2 separate regions of the Homo sapiens genome follow, and region 1 is linked to region 2. The links are contacts of gene promoters, found by promoter capture Hi-C in blood cells and fetal thymus (Javierre and others, 2016). All regions are on one chromosome and are shown on one strand. Each heading gives the region's core, a stretch centred on a gene start or on the middle of the fragment in contact. The rest is flanking DNA. Distances are from core to core; before and after follow the strand shown. Region 1 holds the start of KRTAP13-3 (keratin associated protein 13-3). Region 2 holds the start of KRTAP20-3 (keratin associated protein 20-3).

Evidence for each region. Contacts are between HindIII fragments. The CHiCAGO score rates a contact against its expected background, and 5 or more counts as called.
Region 1: the fragment with the promoter of KRTAP13-3 here is called in contact with the fragment with the promoter of KRTAP20-3 in region 2 in 2 of 17 cell types (neutrophils and monocytes); the score reaches 9.7 in neutrophils.

Annotation. Positions count from the first base shown.
Region 1 is chr21:30,421,433-30,428,212 of GRCh38, reverse strand. It overlaps KRTAP13-3 (keratin associated protein 13-3), which reads left to right and starts at 2,287. Exons shown (of 1, transcript NM_181622.2): 1 at 2,287-2,833. The coding sequence starts at 2,301. The coding sequence ends at 2,819. The region is part of intron 3 of LOC105372772 (a long non-coding RNA gene); the gene reads left to right. The HindIII fragment of the contact is 9,043 bases long and covers 1-5,814 here.
Region 2 is chr21:30,640,102-30,647,393 of GRCh38, reverse strand. It overlaps KRTAP20-3 (keratin associated protein 20-3), which reads right to left and starts at 4,530. Exons shown (of 1, transcript NM_001128077.1): 1 at 4,258-4,530. The coding sequence starts at 4,505. The coding sequence ends at 4,371. The HindIII fragment of the contact is 10,269 bases long and covers 1,460-7,292 here.

The sequences.
Region 1 (6,780 bases), core at 1,038-3,537, 220 kb after region 2:
ATAAAATATATGGCTCAGGGATATACATCAAAAGGCTTCTGATCTTTTGACAGATGATTCTCTTCACTGGGCTATGAATAATGGCTTTGGATATTTGAGATATGTTTTCAACAGAATCTCATCCATAGTTGAAAATTACAACGTTTGGCACCTACCTGCTTCTCTTTTCAAAATAACCAGGCAACTTGTCACTAACATGCTGGAAAATCTTGCTTTCACTAACCATCCAGGTTACAACCTCAATAAGCAAAAGCCAATACTTCTATATAAAGATTGAAAATAGAAAAAAGAGTATAAGCCATATGTAATGTAGTTAAAAAGTGTACCTTGCTTATAATTGGAATCTAAGCAAAAGAAAGATGAGAGGATGGGGCAGAAGCAATATTTGAAGAGAGTACAGTTGGGAATTTACCAATCTTGATAAAAGACATCAACTCACACGTGAAATAATAGGAGAATGGTGTAGATCTAGTCTAACTAAGGTGGAGATGGCTGAAAAAATGAGTTTTAGCAGATATTACCTGGAGACAGTCTGAACATAAGCTCCAAAACTAAACTCAAAAGTTTGTTTATTGTTTCTCTAAATCATTGAACAACTGAAATAATTTTTTTTTTGTTTACCCTGATTGGCATACTCAAGATAAAATGTTCAGTTTAAATTTTTTGCTATCCTTCAAAAAATTGGTTTACTTTTTGTATTAGTCTATTCTCACACTGCTATAAACTACTACCTGTGACTGGGTAATTTATAAAGAGAAGAGGTTTAATTGACTCACAGTTCTGCAGGCTGTACACGAAGCACGGCTGGGGAGGCTTCAGGGAACTTACAATCATGGCAGAAAATGAAGGAGAAGCAGGCAGTCCTACAAGGGAAGCAGTAGAAAGAGTGAAGGGGGAAGTGCTACACATTTTTAAACAACCAGATCTCATGAGAGCTAACTCACTAGCACGAGAACAGCAAGGGGGAAATCCACCCCCATGATCCAATCATCTCCCACCAGGCCTTCCCCAACACTGGGGATTACAATTTGGCCTGAGATTTGGGCAGGGACACAAATCCAAACAGTATCACTTTTTAAAAAGTATAAACAAGATTAAATATTTACAGATTTTCTGCATTTTTTCTCTTTCCAGAGTCTCCCCTGAGAGAGGCTGGGAGAGTTGTAAGATTTGGACATAGGTCTGGCCCAAGTGAAGGAGAAAGAGAAAGAAGTGCTTGAGACCTATGCAGGAGACAGTAGTTCTTTAAGGCCGTTGAGGAAACCCTGAGTCAAAGCTGGCCGTCAATTGTCTTCCAGGAATTCCTATATCCCACTGTGCTCAGTCTTTGCTTGGGAGCAGCCCAGAGAAAGCAAGCCTTCCCCAAAAATGCAGTGTTAACTTTTAGAACACAGCAGGTAGGACCACTGGTTATTTAAGCCTCCTGTAATTTAAGATCCGAGATGAGAATTCTCCAGGCTGCCACACATATGAATGAGAATCTCTTAGGACCATGGGCCTCATATTAGATGCATTGAATCTAAAATTCATTTATTTTTTTCTGTCATTTCAATGGTGTGTGTTTATTTAACACTTTAATTCTCTTCATAAGGCCCCAGAATTGTTTTTCATTTGTGATTGTCTCAGTTCCATCCCTTGCTGTCACCATGTCTCCAAATAATTGTCCAGGTTTCCTTCTGGTCATAGGCATCAATGTTATTCAATTTGTCTTGGCTCATACTTTTCCCTCTACACTGGATGTGAGACACAGTGAGTAACAGTACATAATAGATGAAGGAAACTTTTGTGGAATGAGAAAGGATGGTGACATGTAGGTTTAGTTTTCAGCAGGTTTCTCATTAAGGCCAAAGTTGTGTCTCTAATCCATTGACAAAAAAGACATGTAACTTTATCTCATTTCTCACTGTTTAGGGAAAATTATTGCCCATAACAGCCAATAACAAGACACATGAAAATTATGCTAGGAGGAAAAGGAGGTGCTTTCCTAGACATAATAAAATAAATATTAATACGAAACAGTCATAGCATTTCTGGCATAAGTGCAGTTCATTGGCTTTGTGCTATAACACCAAAATTATAGCACGCATAAATACAACATGTGGAAAAGTATTCAAATGCAATTACAGGCAAGATTGCTGAGCTACACATATGTAAATGAGGGAGCACAAAAATGTGAGGGATGACTCTGCTGTGCACCACACCTATTGCTGAGAGGATATAAATGACACTGTCCAGGATGCCACGTTAAAACTCAGAATCTTCCCAGGTACACTCAGCTGAACTCACATCTTCCCGTCAACATGTCCTACAACTGTTGCTCTAGAAACTTCTCCTCCTGCTCCCACGGGGGTTACTTGCACTACCCAGGCTCCTCCTGTGGCTCTTCCTACCCCAGCAACCTGGTCTACAGCACTGACCTCTGCTCTCCCAGCACCTGCCAGCTGGGTTCCTCTCTCTATAGGGGCTGTCAGGAGACCTGCTGGAGGCCCAACAGCTGTCAGACATTGTGTGTTGAGTCCAGCCCCTGCCACACCTCCTGCTACTACCCCAGGACTCACATGCTCTGCAATTCTTGCCTGACTATGCATGTTGGGTCTCGGGGTTTTGGATCCAATAGCTGCTGCTCCCTGAGCTGTGGATCCAGGAGCTGCTCCTCACTGGGCTGTGGATCCAATGGCTTCAGATATCTGAATTATAGAATCCATACCTCCCCTTCCCAGAGTTATAGATCCAGATTCTGCCATCCAATCTATTTTCCACCTAGAAGGTGGTTCCATTCATCTTGTTATCAGCCATTCTGTAGATCTGGTTTCTACTGACTAATGTGGTGACTGGTAAAACTCATTTGAGAAATGCATATTCTTTAGTAAGGTCATCTGTTAATTTCTTCCTTTGAGAAGTATTCTAATATTATTGATCACCAGGTCTTCCTTACTTTCCAGCCCTCAAAAACTGGGTTGTATGTTAGTTCTGTCAAACTGCAGTTTGGATCAATGAATAATCTATAACTGGATCAATCTGGATCTATAACTCTGGGAAGGGAAGGCATGGATTTTATAATTCAGATATCTGAAGCCATTGGATCAATGAGTGATCCAAACTGCATTATAGATATAATTTATAGTTTTTGTATTTCTTTCCAAAAGAGATAGGAAGTGAAAAAGATTTTATTTTAATAAACTCTTTATTCTTCTGTCCAAATGTGCTGTTAATATTGCTATTTATTAGTAAAGCATTGTCTAGGATGTGCATTGTCATTGCTTCTGGTAATGGGCTTTGCAATGCCCAGATTGTGGGATCTCCACACTAATTTTGGTTGGGCTTTAGATATTTTCCTCCTCTTTAAGCAGGAGTTTCTGGGATTCTCACAGTTTCCAAGGATAGCCTTTCTCTTAAGTATCCTCGTCAGGATAGTTAAGATAGCCTTTGCTATCATTTTTGATGATAACCTTTCATCAGAATCATCAAAAATGATTGTTTGGGTTGTATCTTGAAATAAAATTGGATAGGCTGTATTTATACTGTTCTGTTCTCTCACATCAAAGCGTTATAAAAAGTAAGTTACTGATAGTATTAAGAGCATTGACTATCCTTGTTCATTCCTTGAATATGCCATGCATCTCTAAGGACAGAATGTAACAGAAAAGTTTGAAGAGTACATGAACAAAATTCATACTTATATGATTAGGCCTGTTCATGAAGTATATTAAAATGGAAGACTAACACATGGATGTAAATGTTTAGAAAAGAGCACCTATGAGCTTCAGGTATCATAGTGCAGGAGTATCACTTATTTTTAATTAGCTAAATCCCTGAACCCCAATTACTGTTTTCAATCTGCTCAAATGATCTCCATTTGTTTAAAAAGGCAGGCAACAAACTTTGATGGGAAGGAAGTAGGCTCAGCAGGTGTTAGTTGTACCTGGGTTCTTTGCCAAAATATAAACTGAATCTAATTGAAAACTCTGAAGCCTTTACTATCATCAAAAATGATTGTTTTTTGTCGTATCTTGAAATAAAATTGGATAGACTGTACTTATGCTGTTCTGCTCTCTTACATCCAAGTGTTATAAAAAGTAAGGTACTAAGACAATACGATGGTAATGGCAGACATAATATTTATATAAAACAAGCAATGTTCAAGTATTTTCCTATTCTTTATTTTATAAGATCTTCTAACATTCTCTGAAATTAGAAATATAATGCAGATTATTAGACACTTCACAAAAAACTTAGTCTTATAAGTACATAACAGTCATCTCATCATGTTCTCTTCCTCTTTTACTGCGAATGTGATAAAATATGAAATATAAAGAGAGCTGTAGAGTTCATCGACTTCAATATTCTTATTCTACAGAGGTGGAAATGGAAACAGTAGCGTTAGATAGAATTTTAAAATGTTACTCAGCAAGCTATTGTAGAGCTGTGAGTAGAACTACTTTATTCCACCCAATTTATTTTATTGGATCTATCCAGCTGTGACATTTTCTCTTATCTCCTCACTTCCGTCATTTGCTCCCTATTTTCCTCTTCTTCTTCTTCTCCCTCCTCCTTCTCCTCCATCATGTTTAGGAAATAGTCATGGTGCTTATATAGTTAGAGGAAAGAAATAAGGAATAATGAAAGAAAATGCATAGGAAAAATTATCAGTGATTGAGTTACAAAAATTAAAATGACAAACTGTGAAATCCTCTATAAACTTGGTCCTTTTTATAACTTCATGGATTTTTTGAATTTTAGTGATTCTAGTTAGTCCCATGCTCATAATATTTACTCAAGAGTAATGATCAAGCCTTATATCCCCAAAACATAGGCAATGGTAAGGGTTTAATGAGGAGCACCTATAGCTTATTGGCCAGGCTGAGGTTTCCTCTGTTACTGTCTCCAAATTGCAGATGCAGGAATGGTTTTCTGGCTTTCAGGAATACACTTTAATCTTGGTTTCCTATTACTGCCATAGCAAATTAGATTAAACTTAGAGTTTTAAGCAATACAAATTTATTATCTTTTAATTCTGTAGGTCAAAATCTGATGAATTGATGACCTCACTGGGCTAAATCAAAGTATTAGCAGGGCTGAGTTTCTTTCCAGAGGCTCTAAGGGAGAATCTATTTCCTTGCTTTTTACAGATTCTAGAGAAGGTGTCCCCAACCTCCGGGCCATGAACTGGTACTGGTCCATGGCATGTTAGGAACCAGGCAGCCCAGCAGGAGGTGAGTGGCAGTTGAGCAATTGTTACTGCCTGAGCTCCACCTCCTGTCAGATCAGCAGTAGCATTAGATTCTCATCAGAGCACAAACCCTGTTGTGAACTGCACATGCGAGAGATCTTGGTTGCGCATTCCTTATGAGAATCTAATGCCTGATGATCTGTCTTCCATCATCTGAAGATGGGACCATCTATTTGCAGAAAAACGAGCCCAGGTCTCCCACCAGTTCTACATTCTGGTGAGTTGTATTGTTATTTCATGATATATTACAATGTAATAATAATAGAAATAAAGTGCACAATAAATGGAATGTGCTTGAATCATCCCCAAACCATCCCTCCCCACCTGCTCCAATCTGTGGAAAAACTCTTTCAGGAAACCTGACCCTGGTACCAAAAAGTTTGGAGATGGATGTTCTAGAGGCCACCTACATTTTTTGGTTCATGGTCCCATTCCTCTGTCTCCAAAGACAGCAGTGGTGAGTCCAATCATTTTCATAGTGGATCGCTTAGACCTACTTTTCTGCCTTTACCTCCCACTTCATACTTACAATTACATTGGGTTCGGCTGGGTAATCCAAGATACTCACCCTGTTTTAGCAAGCTTAATTTCATCTGTAACTTTAATTCTTCTTTGCCATGTGAAGGAACATATTTACAAATTCCAGAATTTAGAATTTGAACATCTTTTAGGAGCCATTATTCTGCCTACCAAAACTAGTAAACATGCAAATTTAGAAAATAACTCAAAGATAGATTGATCACAGATAGATAGCAGTATAATAGAGTGCTCACAAACAAATGATCAAAACTCAATGATGGGGACTCTGAACTTATACCACAATTGCCCCGGTTATTATATAAAGGTACCATTTCTAGCTGATAGTCAAAACAAGAAAGTTTTATTATTTTATCACGAGAGACTTGTAACTCCTGAGTTTATATCATGTCATTACCAGTTAGGAAACATCCACCCTCTCCCATTCCAAATCTCTAGCAACACTCTAAATTTCCCAGAATGCAGCTTTTATTCTCTATTTCAGCAACTGCATATAGCATAGTGAATTACAGTCTTCTGATTGTCACCAAGTTGATCCCATTCTACATGATTAACAGGAAATCGGCTGGCACTTATTTGGACTACATCTAGTTGCCTCCATTCTTCCAGCTCCCTCCTGCTGCATACTTTGACAGATGCTTGCGCTATGCATTTTGAACCCAGGAGTTTAGTTCCCAAGCAACTACTGCCCATGCAATTATAATCTTAGAAGCTACTGGTCATCTGCCTACCAACTGGTTTGCAGTTCTGATTTCCAAGACTTAATGTAACCAGTTTTCCAGGAAATTCTCTCACAAATCATTTCTAGGCATTTGATTTCAACAATTTCTATTCATTAATGCATACCTCATGAGTGGCTACAGAGAGCAGCTTTGTCCTCCTCAACACCCTGACCCCATGTTTGTTTGACTGTTTTTTATTAGTCATGTCTCAGAATACATCGTCAAATGTTTTGTCAGTACCACCCTTTTTCACAATATATTTATTCAGCCTTTACCATGAACCAGAATCTT
Region 2 (7,292 bases), core at 3,281-5,780:
TTCAAATTTTTCATTCATTTGATGTTTTCTTTATTCAGAAAATAATGCACATCTGTAATAATAAGTAAAGCAATACAAATATGCATAAAGATGGTGTTAGTTATGTCTCATGCTGCTGCCCACAGGCATTCCCTTCAAATGACCTTCCATTACTTTCTACTTCCTCATACATACATATGCAATTTTATCTCCACCCATGCATACACACATATGGGGGTTTGGAGTTTGTTGTTTCAGACAAAAAAGAATTGCATTACACATATGAGGCCCTTGCCCTTTTTATCTTGGTATGTATTTTGGATATGCTGTAAGTAATTAGATGCAGTCTCTATGTGTACTATATATGACATAATAAATGTAAACATATACACGATATATTCATTGTTCTGGAATTTTTTTCAGTTAAGTTTCTGTCTTCTTAAATTGCTTACCTTTTGCTTACCAATTTACCCTCTCTCATCTCCACCTACCAATCCAACACTACACATCATCTTCCTACCCCATCCCATCCAGATGACTGGATACTTAATTATCTACCATATTTCTCTCTCGATATATATATATAAATGTATATATTTCATAAACAGATACAGACATATAGATATAAGTAAATGTTTTATTTAATGTTTTAAGTTTTGAGCTGTTGTTCCTTTTAGAGCTATAGATCTACTGACCACTTTGGTCCGTACAGGGAATTGGAGTAAAATCTCTCTGTTTAGGAGCCAAACATGATTCAATCCCACAGGTGTTAAGGGTTTTAAGGCTCTTAAAAGAGACTGGAAGAACTCAGCGTTCTGGGTTTTCCCCGTCAATATTTTTCCTTTCAACCTTGTTAAGGTGTAATTTTTGCAATTGCCTTTTGCTACCAAACCAGAAATTTTGCTCCAGACTGTCATGTATTAGAGAATTTCTTCACAGTCTTTTCTTAACCTGTTATCACTATCACAACTTTAGAGAAAATGACCCCTCTGATATCTCATGGTGCTATATTTCTAAACTATCAGAAAATTTTAAGCTTCCTGCCACAATTTACTAAGTATGGTTTCTGGATACTGCATAATAACTCAATTATAACGATGTTCTATCCACTCCCATACAAAGCAAACCAGCTTGAGAGTTGGTAACTCTGCAGTAAACAAGTGTATAATGAATGAACAGAGCACAGCATTTGTGATCATTGTGTAGGTCTGGAGAGCAGTGATGGTTTTCAAGCTCACTCATCTGTTTATTTTAGGATGCTGAACATCTTACATCTTAGACTTGATGGAATATCTCTGACATGGCCAGTGTACAAAAGTTAAAAAAGATTTTCTGTGATCCAACTCTGAGTAGCACATACATAGAATTCTTCAGCAGAAAACATAAGCAGGTACCTTATAATAAACTTCAAATGGGCATTCTACAAGGAGAAGCACATAGCTACTATTCTAATAGATCACAAGGGTTAGACCTTAAAGCTTCATCAGGTAGAAAACATATTGGCTTTTGTTTGCAAATTCTGGGAATTTTCTGCTTCATTTTGTTCAAATGGCCATATCTGGACCCATCAACTCCTGTCAGGGCATGAAGATCATACTCAAAATTGCTGCTCCCATGGCAATCATGTGGATGGAGTTTAGGGTCCATACCAACACATGGAGGACTGGAGAGACTCTCCCATACCTAAGCACTAAGGCCTCTGTTGCTTTACTGTGATTGCATTTATGATATTTTGTCAACCCCTCTTGATGTTAACCTTTGTGAAGGCAGGGAACATGCCAATACTACTGACCGTGTAATTGTCAGCATCTAGCTCAGCGTCAGAATTTACGTTATTACTCTAGAAATCCTTTCTGAAAAAATCCATGTTTGAAGAGAGGAAGATTAAGAAGTTTCTCTTCCCAGAAAGTTGGTGGGCCCTTGATTTTCCTGCCATGACTCCCTTTTCATTTCCTTTTTAACTTTTATCTGCTCCTTCCCTGATTTGCAAACACCTTTTTTTTTAATTCACCTATAATTATTGGAATACTCTATGATATGGTTTGGCCTTGTTCCCCCTCCCCAAATCTCATCTTGAATTGCAGTTCCCATAATCCTCAGGTGGCATGGGAGGGACCCAGAGAGAGGTAATTGAATCATGGGGTGGTTACCCTCATGCTGCTGTTCTCCTGAGAGCGAGTACTTTCTCACGACTTCTGATGGTTTTATAAGGGGATTTTCCCCCTTGTGCTCATTCTTCTCCTTCTTGCTGCCTTGTGAAGAAGGACGTGACTTCTTCCGCTTCTGCCATGATTGTAAGTTTCCTGAGGCCTCCCCAGGTATGTAGAACTGTCAGTTAATTAAACCTGTTTCCTTTATAAATTACCCAGTCTTGGATATTTCTTCAGATCAGAGTGAGAACGGACTAATACACTGTATTTCTGAAGTTACGACGAACTTTATCCAATTATTTTCTATATTTAAAACTCAGTTTTCTCCTGAGTTGTAGATTTTTGTAACAACCTGCCAGGAAAAATCTTTATTTGGCCCTCCCACAGATGACATTTACGTGTACTCAAGTAAACTTTTGCGGCTCCACTTTGATTGTCCCCCAAATGTTCCGATTCCCGTATCACATGTGCCATTAGTTCCACAGTCAGTCGTTGACTGTTCAAGTCCTTGTTTATTTTGTGCTCTGTTTTATTCCTTAGCCCCCTCCATTCTCATACCACATGGGCATGTTCTTTAACTTCTATCCCATAATAATCTATTTGATCTAGGCCTTCATAGGAATCTTAGTTGCCGCTTTTACATTAAGACCTTGCATTGGCTGCTTACACAGCCTCCAGAATGGTCGTTTGGTCTGTGGTCATACTCCTTGGCCACCTTTCCTTCAATTGGATGCCATAATTATTTGTATAAAACATGCGCTTCTTATTTTTATTTTATTTTTCCATGAGTTATTGGGGTACAGTTGGTATTTGATTACATGAGTAGGTTCTTTAGTGGTGATTTGTGAGATTTTGGTGCACCTGTCACCCAAGCAGTATACACTGCACCATATTTGTAGTCTTTTATCCCTCACCTCCTTCTCACCCTTCCCCCCACATTCCCAAAGTCCATTGTATCATTCTTATACTTTTGCATCCTCATAGTTTAGCTCCCACATATCAGTGAGAACATACGATGTTTGGTTTTCCATTCCTGAGTTACTTCACTTAGAATAATAGTTTCCAATCTCATCCAGGTAAAGGAAAATATTACAACTTTATAAAACATTATCCAGTACACCCATTGCAAAATATATATGGCCTTGATGTTCTAGTTTCTCTTCACTGCCCAGGGCTTCATTTCCTGCCAGTGACTTTGCCCACTGTTCTCTCAAGAAATAACATCAATTTATGACTTTGCAGTGCAATACTTTTTTCATGGCTTTGCATATTTGTTTCCCCTGCCTGGCATACACTTTACCTCCAATGTATTTTTCGTTGGTTAAAAATTTATTCAAATGTAACCTTCAATGAGAATATTTTTGATCTGTTTGCTCTACAATCTCGCTCTTTTGCATCCAAACATGAGCTTCTCCTCTGTGTTCCTACGTGGCTATTACATCACCTATCATGTTGTAGCATACATGTTTATTTAAACATTTGTTTTTCTGCTTAAAAACTCTTCTCCCATAAGTAACACTAAGACTTAACAGGAAGCCCTATATAGAAATTACTTAATGAGGACTTATTAAACAAGTGAGTAATTAATAAATTTAAAAAATGAATGACATTGGCCTGGCCAAAGTAAGTTTAATTAAAAATAAACCTAGAGCTCCCTACTCCTGAAACATATCAAAAAGTAATTTGCTTGGTAAATTATGAAAACACATCAGTTTGGAAGAGAAAAATGTAGTTAATCTGGGGCACTGATGTGGATTTAGTGTGAATTTAATGATGTGTGTTCTTTGCCTAGAATTAGATTGAATAACTAAGCATTATTTTTGTTTTTTTGAGATGGAATCTCATTTTGTTGCTCAGGCTGGAGTGCAGTGGTGCCATCTCGGCTGACTGCAACCTCTGCCTTTGGGTTCAAGTGATCCTCCTGCCTCAGCCTCCCCAGTAGCTGGGGCTACAGGCACCCACCACCACACCTGGCTATTTTTTTAACTTTTAGTAGAGATGGGATTTTGCCATGTTGGCCAGGCTGGTCTCGAACTCCTAACCCCAGGTGATCCACCCGCCTCGGCCTCCTAAAGTGCTGGGATTATAGGGAATCATTAAGAATTCTAATTGGGTTAAACAAATTAAAAAAAGTGTAGTAGAACAGCACCCCTGTCTCATAAGAAAATGGACCCAATTGTAGATATTATTCAGTCAGTGCCTGATAATAAGCATGTAGCATAATCATATTGGTGGCAGCAGTCAAATCCATACCCCACCACAGCCACATCTGTAGCCACAGTCCAGGATTCTAAAGGCACCAAAGCCAGAGGTATAACTATATTTACAGTCATAGCCATAGCCCAGTCCTCCGTAGTAGTTGCCATAGTAGCTCATTGTGTCAGGATTTAAGTCTCTAGCCTGAGAGGCCAGCATAAGTTTTAGTGCATAAAAACACTAAAATACTGGGTCTTTTATCAGTCTCAGTGGAGGTGTGACAAACCACAGGCACTCCTGACATTGTCATATAGACCAACCTGTATTTAAAAATCTCATTAATCTTGTATCTTTAGATTTTAAAAAAAGACTCCCTATCCTGATAAAATTGAGATTTTCTTCTCAGTATGTTATGATCCTGCCAAACAGCTGATAGACTTTAAAGGAAAAAAAAATACTGAGTTCCATGACCTTACTCACACTGATGCCGAATTTAACCTTTGTAGCTATGTTGGATGACATCACGTGGAGGAGGCAAATGCCATCCTCTTCCGATCACTTTGCTAATAATACCCTTCTTCTTATATGCATATTTAAATCTTAATCAACACAGCTGTGATGTTATCGCTATAAAACTTAGTAGCAAATACAGTGGACTCTTGAATACCATGAGTTTGAACTGCACAGATACGCTTATATTAAGCAGATTTTCTTCACCTCTGCCACTCCGGCAGCAAGACCAACCCCTCCTCCTCCTTCTCCTCCTCAACCTACTCAACATGAAGACAATAAGGCTGAAGACCTTTATGATGATCCACTTCCACTTAGTGAATAGTAAATCCATTTTCTCTTTTTCTTTATTTTCTTAATAAAATTTTCTTTTCTTTAGCCTACTTTATTATAGGAGTATAATCTCTCATTACAGGTAACATAAGCATGTATTAATCAACTGTTTATGTTATTGGTAAGGCTTCTGGTCAACAGTAGGCTATTAGTAGTTAAGTTTTTGGGGAGTCAAAAGTTATACTCAGATTTTCAACTGCGTGGAGGTTGGCACTCCTAATCCCTGCATTGTTCAAGGATCAACTGTGATTTATTCTGTACAAACTCCCACCAATCACATATTATTCTGTAGTTTTCCTATTGCTATGCTCTCTTAAAAGTAGTGCCCTTTTCTTGCCTGTTTAGTTCCTTCTTCTCCACACCTTAAGCATTCTTTAAAAAGTTGTTTGGTTGATTATCTTGTACCTGCACTGCAATGTAGATATGTTTCTTCGGAGAAAAGAAAAGCATTGAGAATCTTATCTGATTCCAAAGTCACAGGAACGTAAAGTAGACATTTTTGAGACCCAAATATAACAGAAGGCATGACTATTAATTTTTCTGTAGGGATATTGACTCTGTCTGTATCATGTACTTATATGTAGACTTAAGTTCTCAAAGGCAGGCTGAATCTAGATACTATCATTTCTTAAGATGATTAAAAATAATTGAAAATTTTCCTTCACCACTGACCTTTAGGGTAATCCCCGATTTGATCTGTTGTACTTCAGTCATCCACTTTTAGGCAGTGCTACCATATTGGCAGAACCATCTATAATCCAGGACTAATTTTTCCTTCTCCAACTGGAAAATCAGCATAAATTCATAGGTGTATGTTGAGAAAGAAGAGACAACTCAGCAGAGAGGAAACCATGAGAATCCAAGCCAATTGCTTCTGTAAGTTGTTTGTGCTTTCACAACTCCCTTAAGCCCAACCTTATGTTCCCCACCTTCACTTGATGACAGAGAGCTGGTGTGTATGCTCAACTTTCTGAATAAGAGGGCTAGAAAATTTGGGCTGAGATGATGGGGTTTTCTAGATATACAATCACGTCATCTGCAAACAGGGAACATTTGACTTCCTCTTTTCCTAACTGAATACCCTTTATTTCCTTTTCCTGCCTGATTGCCTTGGCCAGAACTTCCAACACTATGTTAAATAGGAGTGGTGAGAGAGGGCATCCCTCTCTTGTGCCAGTTTTCAAAGGGAATGCTTCCAGTTTTTGCCCATTCAGTATGATATTGGCTGTGGGTTTGTCATAGCTAGCTCTTATTATTTTGAGATACTTTAAGCTGATAGGCAACTTCAGCAAAATCTCAGGATACAAAATCAATGTGCAAAAATCACAAGCATTCTTATACACCAATAAAAGACAGAGAGCCAAATCATGAGTGAACTCCCATTCACAATTGCTTCAAAGAGAATAAAATACCTAGGAATCCAACTGACAAGGGATGTGAAGGACGTCTTCAAGGAGAACTACAAACCACTGCTCAGTGAAAAAAGAGGATACAAACAAATGGAAGGACATTCCATGCTCATGGGTAGGAAGAATCAATATTGTGAAAATGGCCATACTGCCCAAGGTAATTTATAGATTCAATGCCATCCCCATCAAGCTACCAATGACTTTCTTCACAGAATTGGAAAAAGCTACTTTAAAGTTCATATGGAACCAAAAAAGAGCCCACATTGCCAAGTCAATCCTAAGCCAAAAGAACAAAGCTGGAGGCATCATGCTACCTGACTTCAAACTATACTACAAGGCTACAGTAACCAAAACAGCATGGTACTGGTACCCAAACAGAGATACAGACCAATGGAACAGAACAGAGCCCTCAGAAATGATGCCGCATATCTATAACTATCTGATCTTTGACAAACCTGACAAAAACAAGAAATGGGGAAAGGATTCCCCATTTAATAAATGGTGCTAGGAAAACTGGCTAGCCATATGTAGAAAGCTGAAACTGGATCCCTTCCTTACACCTTATACAAAAATTAATTCAAGATGGATTAAAGACTTAAATGTTAGACCTAAAACCATAAAAACCCTAGAAGAAAACCTAGGCAATACCATTCAGGACGTAGGCATGGGCAAGGACTTCATGTCTAAAACACCAAAAGCAATGGCAACAAAAGCC